4 separate regions of the Homo sapiens genome follow, and all the other regions are linked to region 4. Evidence: promoter capture Hi-C in 16 types of primary human blood cells and fetal thymus (Javierre and others, 2016). All regions are on one chromosome and are shown on one strand. The core of a region is centred on a gene start or on the middle of the fragment in contact, and the rest is flanking DNA. Distances in the headings are between cores, read along the strand shown.

What was found. Contacts are between HindIII fragments. The CHiCAGO score rates a contact against its expected background, and 5 or more counts as called.
Region 1: a contact is called between the fragment with the promoter of VWA2 here and the fragment with the promoter of FHIP2A in region 4, in 11 of 17 cell types (M2 macrophages, fetal thymus, total CD4 T cells and 8 more). The highest score is 12.9, in M2 macrophages.
Region 2: a contact is called between the fragment with the promoter of ADRB1 here and the fragment with the promoter of FHIP2A in region 4, in 4 of 17 cell types (activated CD4 T cells, neutrophils, naive CD8 T cells and 1 more). The highest score is 10.2, in activated CD4 T cells.
Region 3: the fragment with the promoter of DCLRE1A here is called in contact with the fragment with the promoter of FHIP2A in region 4 in 9 of 17 cell types (total CD4 T cells, activated CD4 T cells, naive CD4 T cells and 6 more); the score reaches 12.8 in total CD4 T cells.

Annotation. Positions count from the first base shown.
Region 1 is chr10:114,237,170-114,240,889 of GRCh38, reverse strand. It overlaps VWA2 (von Willebrand factor A domain containing 2), which reads right to left and starts at 1,636. Exons shown (of 14, transcript NM_001272046.2): 1 at 1,321-1,636. RefSeq lists an enhancer at 1,017-1,725. The HindIII fragment of the contact is 4,541 bases long and covers 1-3,720 here.
Region 2 is chr10:114,041,864-114,045,885 of GRCh38, reverse strand. It overlaps ADRB1 (adrenoceptor beta 1), which reads right to left and starts at 2,020. Exons shown (of 1, transcript NM_000684.3): 1 at 1-2,020. The coding sequence starts at 1,753. The coding sequence ends at 320. RefSeq lists silencers at 1,923-1,982, 2,053-2,332 and an enhancer at 2,603-2,652. The HindIII fragment of the contact is 8,909 bases long and covers 1-4,022 here.
Region 3 is chr10:113,851,465-113,855,446 of GRCh38, reverse strand. It overlaps DCLRE1A (DNA cross-link repair 1A), which reads left to right and starts at 1,365. Exons shown (of 9, transcript NM_014881.5): 1 at 1,365-2,724. The coding sequence starts at 2,265. It overlaps NHLRC2 (NHL repeat containing 2), which reads right to left and starts at 786. Exons shown (of 11, transcript NM_198514.4): 1 at 397-786. The coding sequence starts at 574. RefSeq lists enhancers at 1-306, 3,593-3,812 and a silencer at 317-676. The HindIII fragment of the contact is 6,407 bases long and covers 1-3,982 here.
Region 4 is chr10:114,819,713-114,823,485 of GRCh38, reverse strand. FHIP2A (FHF complex subunit HOOK interacting protein 2A) reads right to left here and starts at 1,706. Exons shown (of 17, transcript NM_020940.4): 1 at 1,363-1,706. The coding sequence starts at 1,407. LOC124902508 (translation initiation factor IF-2-like) reads left to right here and starts at 538. Exons shown (of 2, transcript XM_047426127.1): 1 at 538-2,213. The coding sequence starts at 1,385. The coding sequence ends at 1,990. RefSeq lists silencers at 1,008-1,227, 1,288-1,637, 1,648-1,957 and an enhancer at 802-1,302. The HindIII fragment of the contact is 9,749 bases long and covers 1-3,773 here.

The DNA of each region.
Region 1 (3,720 bases), core at 387-2,886, 580 kb after region 4:
TCCTCTTCTCCAACCTGGGATTTGCCTGGGGACCTAGTCTGAGAAATTCTTACACTACTAGGAGATGGCTCTGGGCTGGATTTTACAAAAGAAGAGTAAGGCCTGAGGAGCTCTGAACCCCCATCAGTCACAAGAGAGGATGGCTTCAGCCTGCTGAAAGCCAGCAGCATTTACAAATTCATGCCTGTGGCTTTTGCCAACTCTAGTGGTACCTTTCTGACCTCTTCACTTCTCTGACTCTTCAATAAATCGACATTTCTTAATATAGTGTCACCTTAACAGCAAAAGAGACCTTGAATTTTTGGGACTGAATTTATAAAACACTTAGAGGTTCTGGGGTTTTACTTAAAGCAGCTTGTAATTTGAAAAATGTACACGTTCTAATTATTCCAATCTCCAAGACATCAAACACATGGCATGAGGTCCCCATTGCTAAGTCCCCTTTCAGCTTCAGCTGGAGCCCTTGATTCCACAATCACAAGCAGCAAGGTGCCCTCCTCCCTTCTCTTCTGTCTGGTGCCCCCAGCAAGTTTTCAAGGTTCAATTCTGAGACTCTCCCATTCACCGTCCCAGCAGGTGGCCAAGGGCCCAAGGCGGGAGGGAAAGGTCGGCTTAGCTAGGGAAAGTTTTGTTAGCCTTATTGGAAGGGAAGGAGACATGCAGGAAGCAGGGCTGAGCCAGGTGGGGGAAGTCACCAGAACGACAAACCCCTGGACTTCCCACTGCCCAAGCGCGAGGACTCTCGGGGCAGCCGGCCCCTCTCAGGTTCTGCTTGCAGACACTTCGCTGGGGGCACTCGTTCTGCCTGGGAAAACTGCCCCAAGTCCCCTTAACACCTGTGTATGTCCTGTAGTGGGGTGTGGGGTGGAAGCGAGCATGTCACCAAAGCCTTTATTCAAAGGGCGAGTCCCTTTCCGCGGCCGCCAGGGAAGGGGGCCCCGCTACTGTGCCAGGAGGGCAGCTTGGGTTTAATACATGCCCTCCTCCACCCCTGTACCCGGAGCCCCTACCCACTTACCTGCTGACCGCACCCCTCCCAAAACCCCGCCAGCTCGCCCGGGACGGACCGCGAGTGGCCACGAGGGAGGCGCGCGCCAGGTGCGCTCTTCCCCCGACGCCGCCGTGCCAGGAAGGCCGCGCTCAGGTGCGCGCAGACAATGCGAACAAAGCCCGCACCCTCGGCGGGGCCGCGCAGCCCGGGTGCTCTGGGTAGGGGTGGCTGGGCAGAGGGGGCCCCAGTACCGGGAGCGTGAATCGGTCATCGGCAGCCGGCACTGGCGGGTACCCGGGCGCCAGAGCCAACTCGGGGCTGGGACTCACCGGAAGGAGAGCGGCGACCAGCGCTCGGTGCCCGGGCGGCTCTACTCACAGACCCGGGCGCGGCTCGGGCCAGGGGGCGCTACGGGATCACAGGAGGGGCGCCCGGGGCGCGGCTGCCACGTGGGACACCTGTTTGTCTCTCCTGGGAGAGGGCGGCACGACCCGACCCGGCTGAGGTCGGAGGAACTACCGCCAGGGAGGTGCATAGAGCCCCTCGCGTTTTTTAAAGCGGCATCGGCCCAGGTCTGCAAATAAAAAAGTACTTCACTTCTACGCGGGTCACCCAGCCTCCGAGCGGTGCAGCCGCGAACACTGTGCCGTCAGCTGACTCCTCCACGGGCTTTATAGCTCCTTGAAAAAATGTTGACTTTGGCATCTTTTCTATTTGTCATGGCAATTGCCTTTTAATTACCTGTCCCTCCTATTGTTGCAGTTGGGTAATAAGCCGACCTTTTGGCCATCATCCTTGCTTAAGATTGGAGGGCGTTTGATTTTTAAAAAATCAAATGCCACAAAGCACAATGCTGAGCATGATGCTTTATATAAAGTAAGCTCTCAATGAACGTTGACTATGACTGCACAATCCATAATTTCCATACTTCATTTAAAAACTGCCAGAGCATGCCTGTTCATTGCAAAAAAAAAAAAAAGAAAAGAAATAACAGTAAAAAAGTTGATAAATCAATCATTTTCCAACACCCAGAGATAATCAGTTAACATTGTGGTGTATGTTCTTCCAATGTCATTCTACCTATGCAAAAATTTATATATTTTTAGTTCATTCCATACAAGCTGTACATTACTCAGGTTTTCCATTTCCTTTTTTTGAATGTCCGTTTTAAGCCACTTCATAATGTCCTAATGTACTTAACCTATCTGCTATTGTTGAATATTAAACTTTCCATTTTAATAATACAATTAGATGTCTTTGTGCTTTTGTCCAATTAATTCCTTAGAATAAACTACGAAAAGGTAAATTTCTAGGATACAGGTTTTATACAACTTAAGACTTTTGATGCCTATTATCTAATTGTCCTCAAGGAAGGTTGACCTGCTTCCTCTTTTCCATGCTCCTTCCCATTATTCTTGTAAATGTCAATCTGATAGGAAAATAATTTGCTTTACACCTTTCCTGTCTGTAGTTCTCAGTTAATTTCCAAACCTCCGACACTGACAGCTTCCAGTGAAAGTGGCCCGTGGTGACTTTAATGTTGCAAACCTCATTGAAGGAGGCTAGGAAAGGACTCATTTTTCCTGTAATTCATTTCTCCCAGTAACATTTACTGAGCACCCAAAAATAAAAACAGGGCCACACCAGAGCAGCAGACATAATGTACCACCACATCATCCCCACAGGGGACAGCAGTTAGTCTTGAGGTCTAACTGCTGGGGAGGGATGGTCTCTGCCTCTAGATCAGCATTGCCCCAGAGAAATACTGACCAAGCCACGTGTGTAATTTTAAATGTTCTAGTGGTCACATTTAATAAAAAGTGAAAAGAAACAGCAAGCTGGATTTCAGTATTAACCTAAACATCCGGAACATTATCTCAACATGTAATCAATAAAGATGTTTTATGCTGTCTTCAAAGTCCTGTTTTTTTGTTTTTTTTTTTTTTTTTTTTGTTTGAGACAGAGTCTCACTCTGTTGCCCAGGCTGGAGTGCAATGGCATGATCTTGGCTCACTGCAACCTCTGCCTCCCAGGTTCAAATGGTTCTCCTGCCTCAGCCTCCCGAGTAGCTGGGATCACAGGTGCACACCACCATGCCCGGCTAATTTTTGTATTTTTAGTAAAGACAGGGTTTTGCCATGTTGGCCAGGCTGGTCTCAAACTCCTGACCTCAGGTAATCCACCCGCCTCAGCCTCCCAAAATGCTGGGATCATAGGCGTGAGCCACCACGCCTGGCCAATCCTGTTGTATTCTATACTCACAAGCACATCTCAATTTGGACTCGCCACATTTTTAAGTGCTGTATAGTCAAATGGGGTGAGTGGCCTGTGCTGCTCCAGAGATGTCCAACAAGGGCAGACCCCAGGTCCTCAAGAAAGTGGAAATTCTACCTTTGACAACCCTCTCCCTGTACCCCTTATGCTGTTTAACAGGTACCAGCATACTTTGACCTTATCAGGCTTACCTTGGAGAAGCCAAATTTCAATCCTGGTTGTTCCTGAAGTATTTGGCATGTCTTTAATTGGGGGCGGGGGGGGGGGAGGTATTTCACATTTTCATTCTGTGATTATGAAGAACTGAAAGCATAAATACAGTGAAGATACCTGTTGCTTCAGACTTCTTCACATCAATGTATAATCAGTCTGTCCGGGGTGTGCACTTGGGCAGGAGGGAAGGCAGGTGGTGCAGGCCCTGGTGAGTGCTGAGTGCTGAGTGGGTGACCAGCAGG
Region 2 (4,022 bases), core at 771-3,270, 780 kb after region 4:
TGGGGGAAAAAAATCTAAAGATGCATCACACGCACACACAAAAGAAGGCCGGACCACAAACAGAAAAAAAAAAAAAAAAAAAAAAGAAGAAGAAAGAAAAGAAAAGAAAAAAAAAACAACAAGGAACATCAGCAAGCCACTCTCCCATCCCTTCCCAAACTTTCCTTTTTGTGCAACGGTCCGTGGCTTTTCTCTTTGCCTCGGATGATTCAGACGAGGATTGTGGGCTTCGAGTTCACCTGCTATCGGTCTTAAGTAAACACAGATCTCCTCGTTCCCCTGGGAAGCCGTGCCCGGAGTCCGCGCCCCGCGCCGGGCCCTACACCTTGGATTCCGAGGCGAAGCCGGGGCGGCACGGCTCGTCCAGGCTCGAGTCGCTGTCCGCCGCCGCCCCGCCGTTGCAGCCGGCCCAGGGCTCCAGCAGGCGCGCGGGCGGCGTGGCCCCGACGACATCGTCGTCGTCGTCGTCCGAGGCGGCCCCGGGCGATGGCGGGGGTCCGGGCCGGGCCAGACAGCCCGAGGCGCGCGGCCGGTCTCCGTGGGTCGCGTGGCGCCGGCGGGCAGCCCTGCGCGCGCAGCAGAGCAGTCCCTGGAAGGCCTTGCGGAAGTCGGGGCTGCGGCAGTAGATGATGGGGTTGAAGGCCGAGTTGGCGTAGCCCAGCCAGTTGAAGAAGACGAAGAGGCGGTCGGGCACCAGCTCGCGGTGGAAGGCCTTCACCACGTTGGCCAGGAAGAAGGGCAGCCAGCAGAGCGTGAAGACGCCCATGATGATGCCCAGCGTCTTGAGCGCCTTCTGCTCGCGCAGGGCCACGAGGCGCGAGGGCCGCCGCTTACCCGCACGCCCGTTGGCCAGCGGGGCGGTGGCGGCGGCGGCGGCGGGGCGCGGGGGTCCGGGCGGCGGCGCGGGCGCGGGGACGGGCGAGGGCGAGGGCGAGGGCGGCCGCGCTGGGCCGCCGAGGAAACGGCGCTCGCAGCTGTCGATCTTCTTCACCTGCTTCTGGGCCTCGCGGAACACCCGCAGGTACACGAAGGCCATGATGCACAGGGGCACGTAGAAGGAGACTACGGACGAGGCGATGGCGTAGGCCCGGTTGGTGACGAAGTCGCAGCACTTGGGGTCGTTGTAGCAGCGGCGCGCCTCGTCGCTCTCCGCCCGCCACCAGTGCATGAGGATGGGCAGGAAGGACACCAGGGCCGAGATGGCCCACACGGTGCACACGAGGCCCCGCGCCCGCGCGCGCGTCAGCAGGCTCTGGTAGCGGAAGGGCGAGGTGATGGCGAGGTAGCGGTCCAGGGCAATGACACACAGGGTCTCGATGCTGGCCGTCACGCACAGCACGTCCACTGAGGTCCACAGCTCGCAGAAGAAGGAGCCGTACTCCCAGCGGCCCCACACCACGATGGTGGCCCCGAACGGCACCACCAGCAGCCCCATGACCAGGTCGGCGCTGGCCAGGGACATGATGAAGAGGTTGGTGAGCGTCTGCAGCCGCGGCGTCTTGGCGATGGCCACGATCACCAGCACATTGCCCGCCACGATGAGCAGCACGATGAGCGCCATCAGCAGACCCATGCCCGCTGTCCACTGCTGAGACAGCGGCTCGGGGCTTTCGCTGGCGGGAGGCAGCAACGAGGCGGGCGGCGACGCGGGCACCAGCAGCCGCGCCGCGGTGGCCGCGCCGTCGGGGAGCGGTGCGGCCGACGACAGGTTACCGGGCTCGGAGGCGCCCAGGACGAGCACCCCCGCGCCCATGCCGAGCTGCGGAGGCCGGGGGCGGGGGGTGTGGCAGGGCTGGGCCGTGGTTGGGGAACACCCCAGAAGCCCGGGCGGCGTGGTGCGCAGAGGGAGGTCGCGGCCGGGTCAGGGCAGCCGCGGCGCGGGGCCGGAGGCATGGGCGCCGGGCGCCTTTCCCGCAGGAGCCGAGCGCTGTCGCTGCCGCTGCCGCCGCCGCCGCCGCCGCCGCTGCTGCTGGAGCCGCTGCCGCTGCTGGAAGAGCCGCCGGGACTTCAGCATGTTTCTGAGCGCGCCGGGCCCGCAGCTCCGGCACCCAGCACCCACCCCACCCCGCTCCCACTCCCCAAGCCAACCCCCGGGGCCTCGCGTCAGGCTCCTGCAGCCAATCCGGGCAAAGGCACGCCCCCGTCTGGTCTGCACCCCCACCTCCAACTCCCCGCACCCCCCTCCCGTTGGCAATTGAGCGGCTCCTGAGAGTCCCGAGCTGATCGCGTAGCTAGTGCCTCCCGTGCGCCCGCGGGTTCCTGCGGACGCACCCCTTCCTGCGCCCGCTGGTTCCTGGTCCCTGTTCCCCCGCGCCCCCTTCCGCGCCTGGCTCCCCCCGGGGCCCCGTCCCCTCCCTCAGCCCCCACTCGCTCCCGCACCCACTCCTGCGCCCCGTTTGCCTCCCGCACCCGCTCCTGCGCCCCGTTTGCCTCCCGCACCCGCTCCTGCGCCCCGTTTGCCTCCAGCACTCGGCTCCCTCCTGCGCCCCCGCTCCCCCCGCATCCCCTCGACCTGCAGTTCCGGGGTTCTCTGCGGAACAGAGCGCTAGCTCCCTTGAGCGGGGAGGGGACCTTGGTGTTCAGGAAGCGCCAGAGCGCCTGGGACAGCTTGTCCGCCAGGCTTGGAGGAGTTTGCCCTGCGAGCTTGGTTGTGATGTGGGGCAGCCTAGCAGGGTGTGTGTAAAACCCTTCCCCCGTCAAGACGGGACCCAGCCAGCATGCGTCGTGACAGCTTGGGGGATTGGAGGTGGGTGTTAGTGGTTAGAAGAAACTTCCCAGCAGAGCGGGTTGCTGGAGCCAAGCGCGCATCTGTCAAGAATGCTCTCTGGGCGCTGTTCTTGCAAGGATCCTCTGTTGAACCTCGAGTGCAGTAGATGTGGAAAGGAAGCGAAGGTTTGTGCATCTAACAGCTAACGCTGAGGGCCCTTTGGAATCGTACACACTCCTCAGTCCTAGCTAATGAACGTGTGAGCATGATGCAAAAATGTATGCTCATGATATGAAAGGAGAGGCTTAGGGAGACAGAAACGTTGAGATACAGAGTAAACGATACCACCGCGAGGGGGAAAAAACGCGTTTAATTACATTTTAGACTTTTCAATGATAACACCTGTATTTTGTGTTTTATTACTCATGTGATTTTATAATTTGAGCTGGGTCAATACAAACAAAAAGGTACTGTCAGTTTATGCTGACGTAATGAACTGCGATTTCAGATTCCTTGGTCTGCGTGCTTGTTTTCTCCTTTGCCCAAGTTCCCAGATTCTCAAAACTCTGAGATTAGTTTTGAAGGGATGAGACAAGAAAACATATAAATACTCCAGAGGATTAAAATCCAAAAGCATTTAAAGTTGTATCTGTGGTTTTTTTTTTTTTTTTTTTTGAGTTGGCAAATGAATTGCTTTGAAATTAGTGAGTTGTTAACCTGGCAAAAAGGATTATACTGGGGGTGAGGGGACAAGAAAGCCATGAATATGCAATATGGCAGGACTGCAAGCCCCTTCTCTAATTTGGCTCCTGTAGTGTCCTCAGCTCAGGCCTGAAATAAAAAAAAAAATAAAAAAATTAAAAAAATCTCTAATTGAGTCCTTGAGGAGTAAACAGCTTCTAATTGTTTATGTAAGGGTGCATGAAAATGTTATATAATGCTCACAGGTCCTTCTAGCATTGGAATAAGAACAGCGCCCGTAACGAACATCATGTTCGTTGATGGTCATCAATATGACCAAGCTCATATCCTTACCTTGCAAGGAGAGACCGACTTCCACAGCTGTCCAGGTCAAAAGCAAAAAGTAATGTTTTTCAAGTTTATATAAAATCAAGCAGTTTTAACCACTTTCTCTTACATAAATGCAAACATATGAATTTGCTTTAGGCCCAAACCTCAGCATCAGTATGTTAAAACTGGGGAGTGATTTGTTTATTCACCCCCTGCCCATGATTTATCAGCTGATTTTCCAACTTGGGGAGGTTGAGGAGGAGTGGCCAGGAAACAAGAGGCGTTAGAAAGGGGAGGAAGGAGA
Region 3 (3,982 bases), core at 116-2,615, 970 kb after region 4:
AAAGTGATCAATAAATGTCAAGATGATGCAGAAAGATGACCAGAAGACACTGGGGAACCAGATTGAATGGACAGAATGGTGTGGACGTTGCAATCATTGCCACCGGGGACACTAAATATTCACGGAGTGTCCACTTGGCTAATATCAGGCGCGGGCGGAACTCAGGATACACAGACGAGTATGTGGATCCCCGTGCCAGGGAAACCCCCGTCGGTGGCCGCTTGGGGACCCCTGGGAATTGCAGAACACGCGAACAGCGGCCCAAGTTAGGCGAAGGGCCACTCCCCGGGGCGCCAGCGGCACAAACCCGCCTAGCCCACCGCTTCGCGGGAGGGCGCCGTCCCCGAGGAAGGGGAGGTGCCGGGAGGGGCCCCCACCCCGACGCCAGCCCCTCACCTTCCGGAAACTCGGGTACTGACAAGTCCTGCTCCCAGCCGTCCACCTTCTGCAGATACTGGTAGACCAGGCTGTCCTTCTCCTGCTGGGTAACGGCGTCGAGCAGGGCGTACTCTAGCGAGGTCTGCGCGGGGAGCAGGCCGGAGAGGCTGCGGCCCCGGCCTCCGGGCGCCGCCATGTTTCCGCCGGGCTCCCGATGCGGCCGCCGGGCCCGCGGGAGAGTCTCGCTGGGAGAGACGAAACGTTCACTGTCCTGTGGTTTCCAAACGGCGCATTCACCTCACCCTCCACTAGCCCCACTCCACGCCAATGACACTTTTTTCTTTTTAAAGCATAGGTCCAAGTGCCAAAAGTCCAAATCGGCGCAGTTCCCGGGGACGTAATTAAACTGCCGTCCGACCCACCCCGCCCCTTTTCGGTCCCCACGCCGCAGCCGAGCCTGGACATTGAGAGCGTCAGATTCAACATGGAATAAGGCCTTAGGGACAGCGTCCCAGAGGCGCTAAGGGAAACATCCCCAACCCTCCACATTGGGAATTAGCGGACTTTCGAACACAAATAAAATACAATAAATCCGTAGGACTTAAAAGGGCAATGTATTTTTAAAAATTATTTTTAAAGTCTCTCTCTTTGAACAGCATCCGCCGATTCGACACGGCACTGGCAGCGGGAACTTGTTCCCGCCAAGACCCTAAAGGTAAAGCGGGTAGGGATAACCTCCAGAGAGAAGGCTTTGTAAACTGGAAGTGACTGGCGCGAGTGGCTTTCACTTATACACAAACACAGCGTTTTGTCATCTGGGAGTGCTGAAAGTGCGGGCGCGAACACATTTTTAGATGGGGGTGCCGGGAGGAGCGGATGCAGCTGGAGCGGCTCCCTTGGGGTGCCGAGTGGCAGGTGGGGGGCGGTGAGGGTCCTTGAGGGCGGGCCTTAGAGTCTTCAGAAGGGCAGGACTCTGAGGGCTTTTTGGAGCTCGCTATGCTTAACCTGGAGATGATTAAGGCCCCGCTTCCTGGCCTCCCAGCCTCTAATGCCAAAAGATAAGGGAGAGGCTGGCGTGTGACCCCGTTTTGAGTCAGGTGGACAGAGGGCTGGCCACCTTCGGAACCATGGGTGCAATACGGAGTCAGACCTCAATACAAGCCCACTCTTTCACATATTTGAACTTTTTTCACATATCAACTTTTTTTGTTCACTGTGCAGGGATTGTTCATTGCTGCTGGAGGAAGATCATGGACTGTCGCGGGAAACTGAAGTGGTTGAGTATCCACTAGTCGTGGATGAGGGCAGTGACTTCGCAGTTTTTTGCGAATTACACATCTCTTTGATTATGTTGTGACTAGTTTTGTTAGATAGTCATTTAGTGTTTGGGATACCTGTTAAGCCCTTTGTCCAGGGACTGTGGTTGGATTTATGAATTATTTGGACGGTTGTCCACTTGAAAGAACTGACAGTAGCTTCATAACAATGTTACAAATCTCGTTCTAAGATTAAGCTGTTGAACCTATATTTGCCATTAGCGCTTAATTTTTGAAGTATTATTTTTATGAATCAAGCCCTGGAAAAGGACAAGATATTTGAATGAAATAGCACCCATAATGGAGAACTTCACAGTTGCTACTCCTGTGATAGGTTTATCTTAGTTTCATTGTGGTATAAATGGAATAGCAGGTGTTGTCAGGTACAAGGTTTGTAGCTTGCCAATATGTTCATTACCAACACTGCAGATTCCCATTGAGTTGGTGGGGGTTTTGTTACCTTTGTTTTTTTTCTCAGCAAAATAATTCTATAACTTTTTGTTTGTGACAAGAAATGGACTTTCAGTTTACTTAAGATTAATACTTCTTGAATGATAAAATCATTTTGCCATGTTAGAAGACATTTCCGAAGAAGACATTTGGGAATACAAATCTAAAAGAAAACCAAAACGAGTTGATCCAAATAATGGCTCTAAAAATATTCTAAAATCTGTTGAAAAAGCAACAGATGGAAAATACCAGTCAAAACGGAGTAGAAACAGAAAAAGAGCCGCAGAAGCTAAAGAGGTGAAGGACCATGAAGTGCCCCTTGGAAATGCAGGTTGTCAGACTTCTGTTGCTTCTAGTCAGAATTCAAGTTGTGGAGATGGTATTCAGCAGACCCAAGACAAGGAAACTACTCCAGGAAAACTCTGTAGAACTCAAAAAAGCCAACACGTGTCCCCAAAGATACGTCCAGTTTATGATGGATACTGTCCAAATTGCCAGATGCCTTTTTCCTCATTGATAGGGCAGACACCTCGATGGCATGTTTTTGAATGTTTGGATTCTCCACCACGCTCTGAAACAGGTAAGACTGCAGAAAACGTAGTAGTTTCTAAATAATCTAAAAAGTCTTCATTAGGTCAGACATACCAATTCAGTGAAACAAGGAAGGCAAGCAGTAACCTAAAAGAGAGATGAGACACTGGGAAACACCATACCAGTCAACGGTATAATTGTAAAGCAAATGGCAGACTAGAAAACAGTTTAAATACATTGTGTTATTTCATAAAAGTTCCTAAGTATCTGGATTATTTTCCATAAATGTTAACTGAATCCTTACTATGCTGGGTACTTTCACACTGTCTACTTACCCAACTTTCACAATCACCATATAAGGTAGCTAGTATTGACATTTTATAGATGAAAGTTCTTAAAAGTCAGATAACTTGTCCAATTGGTTATTTATTTTTTTGAGACGGAGTCTCTCTCTGTTGCCCAGATTGGAGTGCAGTGGCGCTATCTTGGCTCACTGCAAGCTCCGCTTCCTAGGTTCATGCCATTCTCCTGCCTCAGCTTCCCGAGTAGCCGGGACTACAGGCGCCCGCCACCGCACCCGGCTAATTTTTTGTATTTTTAGTAGAGACGGGGTTTCGCCGTGTTAGCCAGGATGGTCTCGATCTCCTGACCTCGTGATCTGCCCGCCTCGGCCTCCCAAAGTGCTGGTATTACAGGCATGAACCACCGCGCCCGGCCCCAGTTGGTGGTTATTATGGAACTCCATAGAAAATTATAAATAGGCTGGGCACAGTGGCTCATGCCAGTAATCCCAGTACTTTGGGAGGTGGAGGCAGGCGGATCACTTGAGCCTAGGAATTCAAGACCAGCCTGTGCAACATGGTGAAACCCCATCTTTACAAAAAAAATTACCAAAAATTAGCCAGGTGTGGTGGGCTACTTGGAAGGCTGAGGTGGGAGGATCACCTGAGCCCAAGAGGTCGAGGCTGTAGGGCCCTGTGATCATGCCAGGGCACTCCAGCCTGGGTGGGGCGACAGAGGGAGACCTTGTCTGAAAAAAAAAAAAAAAAGTATAGATATAATGTGGTTTCTAAATATGGTTATGTTTTAGTCATCGTGCTATGTATACAGGAAGAGGAACTGTGAAGGAGTCCTAGGTGATTAAGATTCTAACAAAAAACGTGTCAAATGATAATAAAAGTATGCTATGTTTTTTATCTTTTAAAATATGTAATAAGTATTTAATGTAGAAAATCCTACTTGGAATACATATGGAGAACAGGTTGTTGTGATGATTTATATATTTTGAAATCATTTATATTCCATAT
Region 4 (3,773 bases), core at 457-2,956:
AAAATTAAATGATTCTTGGTATTTTTAAAGAAAACAAAATTTAAATGTTTTAATAAACTGCAGTTAAATTCTTTCAACAAAAGTAGAGTGTGTATAAGCAAGTAAAAACTAAAAGTTGTCTTGAAGTCTACCACTGTCATTTCCCTCCGTGTAATACTGCTCTACATTTATGAAACCCTGTTTTTCCTGTTTGATACATTTTCCCAAGAGCTTGCCCTAGAGCTAAATTTTTTAACGCTTCTCATGTATCACTTAAATAACAATTGTACTAAAGTTTGTTTTTATTACTGAAGGCAAAAACTCCATTTTTGCCTGCCCATAAAAAATCATTGTTGTATCTGACATTTTTAAAGTGTACATTTTAAAGTGTCCTATCACATAATATGAACATAGGAAGAGAATGTCATGTTAAAAATTAGCAAAGTAATTGTTTCTGCACAGAATGCATTTTTCAATTTGGGCAGTTCTCCCAGAATAAAGTAAACAAGTGAAGCAACTAGCATTCTTACTAGAACAGTGACAAGGCATTTTCTTTTTAGTTTCTTTTCACTTATTAGTCTACTAGGATACTTGAATACTGTCTCTATGCTGGTGTCTAAAACCCTCAAAGGAGAGTACAATTGCAGGATAAACGAAGAGTGTCCAGGAAGAGAACTAGACAAGAAAGGAAACAGATGGTCTCTGGGCTCGGTGAGCTTGGAAGCTGTCGAAAGCAAACTCGACTGGACCCTCCAAACTCCTATTTCAGATCAATACATAAGGTTCAGCTGAGTTCGGCCTCCAGGCCCAAGAAAGCAAAAGCCAGCAACCCGGGGGCTGGTCGGCGGCTCCCTCGCCAGGGACGCCCCACAGCGAGACCATGCCTCTCCCACCTCTACCCCCGAAAACCAAAACAAAACAGAACCAAGCCCAAGCGGTGCTTGCTCGTTTCTTTTGTCTTGCTCAACGCTGACCACTTTTTTTCCGGAGAAGGTTAACGTTAAGGGAGCCCGGGGGAGCTCTCTGCGACCCCGCCAGGTGCTCCCCGAACCCCCGGCCCCATCAGAGGAATGAGGCGACCACCGAGCGGCGTTGGGCGGCCAGGTCCTCCCCGGCACCCCCGCCCCGGCTCCTGGAGGAGGGCAGGGACTGCCGGCCTGGGGCAGCCAGGGACCGACGGGACCCCCGCAGAGCCAGGCCCGAGGCCCCGGGCGCCCCCACGACCCGGCGGCCGCCCAGGGCGCCCGCCTGGGGCCTCACCCCAACCGGGGACAGGGCCGCCGAGGGCCGGGCCAAGGCCGCCCGGCTTGTCCCCGAGGCCGCCGGGGAGCGTAGGCCGCCGCCATCCCCGGCCTGCCGTGCGCCCGCAGCCCGCGGCCTTACCGCCTCCACGGCGTGCTGCAGGATGGAGGTGAACTTGGAGAACATCCTGTCCCGGGACTGCAGCAGCCTCTCCCGGGACGACCTGGAGAGCTCCTCGATCCGCCGCCGCCGCCCCTGCTGCGGCTGCCGGGGCCGCTCCAGAGTGAAGGCCGGTGCGGGGCGGGGAGGACGAGCTGAGGATCGAGGCAGGGCCTGGCCCGGCCGCTTCAGGTGTGCGCGGGCGGCTCGGCGGCTCCGGAGGGCGCCGGGACGCGGCGGGCGGCGAGGAGGGCGTTCGGCGAGGACTCGGGGCCCGGAGAAGCTCCGGCGGCGGCACCGGTTGGGACACGGTGGCAGCCCGGCTCGGGTTCCTTCCCCCCGCTCTGCCCGCCGCGGCCTGCAGGGGGCGCCGCCGCAGCCCGGGGAGGCCCGGCCAGGCCTGCCCTGCGGCGGGGCCGCTAGGCGCCGCGGGGGCGGGGGGCGCGCTGAGGCCTCGGCCTCGCGCGGGGCTGGAGGCGGCCTGTGGGCAGCCACCGCCCTCTCCCGGCTTTCTCAGGGCGCCTGGGACACCGGCTTTCTAACATTTTTACAGCTCAGCGATTCTCAAGAGTTTTGTTTCTCCAGTGGAAGTAACAGGCTGACTTTGTAGGGACACGCAGCCGTCCATATATGCGTATAGCATTCAGAGGTTCTTCCTGTAAGGACCGATTTGGAAGACTCGTTAAGAAAACAGTGTTCTTTAAGCAAACATTGGCAATGGATTTAAATGCTCAGATTTTGAAGAAATCAACGACTGCAGGTGAAATGGCTTTGCTAACTTTAAAATATATTATTATTCAACATTGAAACAGGAAATCCCACATGAGCACATGGTAAGACGGCTGGCTTAGTTTAAATAGCCCATTATAATATTTATATATAATATATAACATAATTTATTTGTGATATGGTTGATAGTGAGGTGTAGTGATTCAGAACAGCATTTTCTATTCAGTTATCAGATGATACCGGAAAACATTAGCGAGGGAAAGAATCTGAAAGGAGTCCAGTAAATGCCTAAGGCAGATAAATAGAGCTACAAGGTAAGCACTTGGGTGGAGGCTGCTTAAAATACTCCCTAACAGTGTATTAGTCAAGCCTTGAAGAAGCAGTTCAGGCTGGTAAAGTTTAGGTTGAGTTAATACAAATTATGAAAATATTTGTATCCTGAAGAAATTTGTTTTATGCTGGTATTGGCGTTTTACCAAAAGGTTCATTAAGTTCTTAAGATGAGGTGGGGAGTGAGTTTTGCACAACCAGTGCTGAAAATACGTATCTGGCCCAGGCGCGGTGGCTCACGCCTGTAATCTCAGCACTCTGGGAGGCAAAGGCGGGAGGATCACTTGAGGCCAGGAGTTCGAGACCAGCCTGGCCAACATGGTGAAACTCCGTCTCTATTAAAAATACAAAAAAAAAAAAAAAAAAAAAATTAGCCGAACGTGGTGGTGTAATGGGATTACATGCTTGTAATCCCAGCTACTTGGGAGGCTGAGGCAGGAGAATCCTTGAACTCGGGAGGCGGAAGTTGCAGTGAGCCAAGGTTGCGCCATTGCGCTCCAGCCTGGACAACAAGAGCAAAACTCCATCTCAAAAAAAAAAAAAAAAATACACACACACACACACACACACACACACACACACACACATACATGTATACACACACATACGTTTATACATACACAAACGTATATATACACATACGTATATATACATGTATACACACACACACGTATATATATCTGTAATTGATTCATGGAACAGAGAAAAGGTGGCTGTCATATGGAGTGGTGGTAACTGGCCAGGCTCTGGGGCTGGGTAGCCTAAGTCCCAGCTCTGCCACCCACAGTGGAAAGTTATTTAACTTCTTTGTGTTTTAATTTGCTTATATGTCAAAAGGGGAGAACAGTACCTACCTCTTGAGGTTGTTGTGGGAATTAATTAATATATGTAAAACACTTTAACAGTGCCCAGTCCCTAGTAAGAGATGCACAGACACTTATACTTGTTCTGAGTTGTGGTAGTGGTATTTAGCAAAATAATAGGGCCAGAAATCAGGAATTAAGGAGGAGATCTTAACTGGGCTTCTTTTCCCTCCTGTTTTTGTGGTTTATATCCCTGCGGTGCTCCTTGGCAGATAAATACGACCTTAATTTTCTACGTACTACCCCCAGAATGCTGGAGGCATCCTCTGTTGTTTTGTGCCCCTTACCAAATTCTGGCCGTGTCTGCTTCAACTGAGAGCATGTATGTATGCTTATTGTTATTATATTCATACACAGTTTAAGATGGTTAGTCATATTATTAACCATAATTAGTTTCATGATCTAATTATCATGCATTTATATGGCATTTTGTAGTTCCAAAATGCCTTACAACCACTAATTGTATGAGGA